Regions from separate parts of the Homo sapiens genome. Here region 2 is linked to region 1. The links are contacts of gene promoters, found by promoter capture Hi-C in blood cells and fetal thymus (Javierre and others, 2016). All regions are on one chromosome and are shown on one strand. The core of a region is centred on a gene start or on the middle of the fragment in contact, and the rest is flanking DNA. Distances in the headings are between cores, read along the strand shown.

Region 1 (2,700 bases), core at 86-2,585:
ATTATCCCAATAAATTTTTTATTTTGCAGGATTATAATCACCCTGTATATGCAAATTCTTATTACTGTGGAATAAACATTTTCTCTATCATTAGATATGCTTTACATTTTTTAATGACTGCAAAAAAATTTCTTCCAATATACCAACCACCTTCCTGCAGCTTCTTCTCACCCTCCAAGCATTAAACGTGCCTTCAACTGTGAGGATAAGAAAGAACTCAAGCCAACCCAACCACTCCTTCATGCATGACCTCTAAAACGCTGCGGGACGTCGTGAGAAGGGGCTATTCAGCAGAAAAAGGTGCAGTAGTGTTTCATTTAATAACACCCCAAAAATAGTGGGGAGAAGGAAGTTCGGTGAAGGATGGTCTCCTTATCACTCCCTCCAAGTCTTAGCTGCAGCTGGCTCCCTCCCACTCGCCCACCGAGCAGTGGCGGCCAGAATCCTTGGCAGAGATAACCCTCAGCTCCACTGGGGTTAGGGGTCTGGGCCAGACATGGGTGGGCAAGAGAGAAAAACGGAAGGGCGGGGTGTAAGAGTGGGTTCTTTCCCAGGCCAGATGACTTACACAACGTTTTGGCTTCCAGTCCCTGAGAAAGTGGGGGTGGGGATGGAAATCACTTTTCCAGGAGAGCTGTCTCCTTCGGGCTAGGATGATCAACTTGGCATGGGCTCTGCAAAGTTAGTTTGGAGCGTCCCTCCCCAAGGGGTCCCGCCAGGGGTGGGGGTGGGGGCGCCCACCTGCAGCTGGCTGGAGCAGCCGTACTGGATGAGCGGTGTGAAAGTTGTCAGCTGCAGCTCGGCGTCCGTCTGCAGCTCGTGCCCAACCAGGTTGGGCATCTTGGTCACGTTGTAGCCGAGGTTCTGGCACATGGAGATGCGGATGGGGTCGCAGCGCCGCTCTTCCTCGTCCCCGAAGCCCCGCGCCGGCCCCAGGAGCAGCAGCAACTGCAGGAGCAACCCCAGACTGAGACCGACGCCCCCGGGCGCCCCCGGGACGCTCGGCCCTGCGCCCCGCCAGGCCATGGCCAGCATCGGGGGTAGCAGCGGCAGCGGCTGGGGCTGCTCTGGCAGACACCCCCAGTTTGCACGGGGGCGCCGGCTGCCCGCGCTGCTCCCAGCTCCCGGGACGGGAGTGTGATGCGGCGACGAGGGGGCAGCGGCCGGCTCTCCAGCAGCTGCGCGCGACTGTGTGGGATTTTAGACGTCCCGGGCCGAGGCCGAGGGACAGGCTGCGAGGGTCATGGCTGCAGGCGGCGAGCCCACAAGCCGGCGCCGGCCGCGTCCGTTCGGCGTCTCCGCGAGGCCAGCCAGCAGCCAGCGCTGCGCAGCTCTCACCGCCGGAGCCCTGCGCGGCGCTGGAGGCTCGCGGCGCGGCGGCGGGGCGGGACGGACAGCGGGCCTCTCCAATGGCCGGGCGCGGTGGGCAGCTAGGGGCGAGGCGGCGGGGCGGGGCCGCTCTCCCGCAGGAGGAGTCAGGCCCCCGCCCTCCGGCCCCCTCCTCCGGCCGCCCCTCCCTCCCTCCCTCCCCTAGCGCCCCGCCCCGCCCGCCTCCCGGCTCTTGCTTTCCTCCCACCCGGATCTAGGCGCGCAGGGGCCAAGCAGGGACGCAGCCCAGTGGCTCCAGCCACGCCGTCCTGCCCCCTTCTGCAGGTGAGAAGTGCGCCCTGTTCCATCTGCCCCCTTTCCTTCCTGTCTCCTTTCAGCTGTAACCTAGGCCGGTGGCCACCTCCCCGTCAGGCAGAGAAACGTACACAAAGAATTGGGGATTTGGATTTACACCGATTGTGGCTTTCAGTCCCGGTTGTGTGACCTTGAGCAAATTGCTCAACCCCTCGGCGTCAGTCTCCTCTGTAAAGTCACTTGGGAGGATTAGAGATAAAGTGTAGAAGGCTTAGCATGGTGCCTGGTACTGCGTGAGTCCACAGCTATTTTCACTCCGGACCAGCGGCGATCGGGGCCCGGCCTCTCCCCGCCCCCAGACTCGCCCGACCTGCGCAGGGAGCCGCCCACCTCCAGCCGCCAGCGGGGAGGCGCCCCAGAGCTGCGGAGCTGCAGACCCGCCGACGGTCTCGCGCTCTGATTTCCTCACCGTATGAAATGAAATTCCACAGGGGGATTCGAAAGGAAATGAGACCGGGACTCTCCGTGCTTCTCGGCCCGCCGCCCTTCCTGTCTCGGGGACACGGTTTCTAAATAAGGTTGGGAGGGTGAGAGGGCGGGAGGGGAGAGGCTTGACCTGTGCACTGGGGACGAGGAAGGCGCACAACCACCGTGACTCCTCTCTCCCGGCCTCCCGGGCACCCCCTCCCCACCAGGCTGCACCCCTTTTTTTCTTTGCTTCTGCTTCGGCTCCTAGGGATCTGGGGATCATGTGACCCAGGTTTGAACCCAACTTTCCTGTCTCATTACCAGCCCCCCGCGGCTTTGTGCTGGTCCACCCTCTCTCTGCTTTCCAGTCGGCCAGTAAACTCCCAGCAGGTGGATTCCTCCACCGTTTACTTGTTGCTTGACTGTGTTGAAGCTATGGTGCCTCTCTGAGCCTCAAAGTGGCCGGCTGTAAAGTGGGGAAGTTCATATCCACCTCACACAGTTGTTCTAAGAGTTCAGTGAGATAATACCTGTAAATCATTTAGCAGTGTCTGACACATAATAAATGCTGAAGAACTTGGTGATTGGGGTGTGTGTGTGTGTGTGTGT
Region 2 (2,700 bases), core at 74-2,573, 240 kb after region 1:
ACATAACTTAGAAGTTTTCCTTATTATCTATGTTTTTGGAATAATTTTAAAGTAGCATTGGGAGTTTATACTTTTAAAAAGTATGCTAGCATTCTCCTGAGAAGTCATCTGGACGTGGGGCATTTTTTTGAGAGCTCTATTACTGGTTTTTCTATTTCTTTTGTTTCTTTTCTTTTCTTTTCTTTTTTTTTTTTTTTTTTCGAGATGGAGTCTTGCTCCAGGCTGGAGTGCAGTGGCGCGATCTGGGCTTACTGCAACCTCCACCTCCTGGGATCAAGCGATCCCCCTGCCTCAGCCTCCCGAGTAGCTGGGACTACAGGCATGTGCCACCGTGCCCAGCTAATTTTTTTTTTTTTTTGTATTTTAGTAGAGACGGGGTTTTACCATGTTGGCCAGGATGGTGTCGATCTCCTAACTTCGTGATCCGCCCAACTTGGCCTCCCAAAGTGCTGGGATTACAGGCATGAGCCACTTCTATTTCTTTTATAATTGATTTATGTAGATGTCTGTCTTTCTTAAGGCCATTTCTGGTACCAATTTCAGTATTTTTTAGGTTAAATTTTAAAGACAAATTTATATTCAGAAGATTGTTTCTTTTTTTTGCTGTAAGTCAATAGGAATAAAATGAATTACGTATTTATGTATGTTATATAAAGGCAAACATCAGAAGTTTATCAGTTCTTTAAAGAGAAGTAAACTTGTTTTACCCATGTTTGTGTTTTAACTTGTTTTTGAAGGCAATTAGGTAAATATGAGTGAATGTAAGAGTTTTCAAAAAACCGCCTATGTTCTTTTGAAATGTGTGTGCTACTTGAAGATATCAGCTATTATTTTATTTATAAATAAGAGAAATAAGCTTTATTCCATGTAATTTGATAAAACAATTTGAATTTTTGTTTCTAGATCTATTACTGTTTATAAAGGCTGGTACAAATTCATTTTTAATAAAACCAGTTTACATATTTATAAGAATGTGATTGTATGTGTGGGTGAGCCGTGTATACTGCTTTTAATAAATATTTTGGTTTGCCGGGCATGGTGGCTCACGCCTGTAATTCCAGCACTTTCAGTGGCAAAGGTGGGCAGATCACTTGAGATCAGGAGTTCAAGGCCAGCCTGGCCAACATGGGAAAACCCCGTCTCTACTAAAAATATAAAAAATACCCAGGCCTGGTGGCACCCACCTGTAGTCCAAGCTACTTGGGAGGCTGAGGCAGGAGAATCACTTGAACCTGGGAGGCAAAGGTTGCAGTGAGCTGAGATTGCACCACTGCACTCCAGCCTGGGTGACTCCATCTCAAAAAAAAAAATTGTCATTTTTTGTGTATTCATTTCTTTTTTCATCATATATAATAGGCCATCATTAAGTTAAGACTGAGTGATACACAGCAGTGGAGTGGAGACAACAAGGTACCTGCTCTTGAGGAGCTTGTGTCTAGCAGATTCTAAGTGGGGGTGTAGTGGTGGTGAGATCTGATTCAAGAAATATTTAGGAGATACTTGAAAATTATAAGACAAATTTATCAAATCACTTAATCTAGAGTTTTCATATAGATTAAGATACAGATTGTTATTTAGTTTAGCCTCTGCTAATTTTTATCCATTTTCCTTGTAATCTGCAAAATTTTCAGGTTCTTCTGTTTTATTTTCCCATTTATTTTTCCCAAGAGCTAAATATTGATGAGACTCCAGATATGAAATTACTTTAATTTGGTAGTGAGAATTGAAAATCACTGTTTTTGGTGGGGGGATAACTGTTAATTTCTTCTAAGTACCCAGGGAATAATTGTTAAGCTTTTGATTTTGTGGCTTATGTAATTAAGAATATCTGACTTCTCTTTTCAATGTGTAATCAGAAATAAAGAATTAAGAACTCAGTTAGGTTTTTTAAATTTTTTCTTTAGTTGGTTCAGATTTAAGTCTTGAATTGTTCACTTAAAGACCATATATATTCTTATATATTATATTATATATTATATAAACATATATATTTGTATGTATATATGAAGTCATACATTATACTTGTTTTGAATTTTTTAATAGGCCTATGATCATGCTAGGATACAGTAGATACACAATACATTTATTTAATTTGTGTGCATTGAAGTATTGCTGTGGACTGTGATAAAGAATTTTTGTGGTAAGCCATAGGCTTGTTATCTTTGCTTTTTTCACTTACTAGCAGAGAAGATTAATGTAGTAATGTTCATGACATTCATGTTTATTCTTTAAAATCTTCATAAAATGTTTTGAATCAGTTAAACACATTTAAAAGAGTTTGTTCCTGTGTGAATTTTAAGCCTTTTAATGGATTTTACTTCCATTTCATTTAATGAAAAAGAAACTGTGGCTCCACACAAAAGACAACATATTTTCTGCACAAGTTAAAAAAAAATTGGTAAATGTAGATCTTTGTTGACTGAAGTGCTGGGAAAGCTGCTGTTTCTTGCACGTATTCTTAAAATCAACAAAATACCTCCACAAGACAACTGGCAGCTGTGGTTGAACTTAAAAAGCACTCTTACTTATGCTAAAGTTTGCAGTATTTTAGTCCAGCTAACTGTATACTATTCTGCAAATGAAAAAATCTCAAATCGTTTAGTGGGCAAAGACTTTTGAAATTCTCTTGTACTATCCTGTGTCAGATCTTTACTACTATTTACTTGTACAGTATAGTTTATTCTACATTTTATAGTTCCA

The links. The method cuts DNA at HindIII sites, captures the fragments that hold promoters and counts their contacts. A CHiCAGO score of 5 or more calls a contact.
Region 2: a contact is called between a fragment that was not itself captured here and the fragment with the promoter of FZD4 in region 1, in 1 of 17 cell types (erythroblasts). The highest score is 5.7, in erythroblasts.

Annotation. Positions count from the first base shown.
Region 1 is chr11:86,954,060-86,956,759 of GRCh38, forward strand. It overlaps FZD4 (frizzled class receptor 4), which reads right to left and starts at 1,336. Exons shown (of 2, transcript NM_012193.4): 1 at 742-1,336. The coding sequence starts at 1,026. It overlaps FZD4-DT (FZD4 divergent transcript), which reads left to right and starts at 1,562. Exons shown (of 3, transcript NR_038905.1): 1 at 1,562-1,653. RefSeq lists silencers at 1,014-1,063, 1,194-1,563, 1,914-2,063. The HindIII fragment of the contact is 4,830 bases long and covers 1-2,700 here.
Region 2 is chr11:87,191,806-87,194,505 of GRCh38, forward strand. The region is part of intron 5 of TMEM135 (transmembrane protein 135); the gene reads left to right. Among named protein-coding and RNA genes, the nearest start is that of TMEM135, 160 kb to the left of the region's middle. The HindIII fragment of the contact is 938 bases long and covers 855-1,792 here.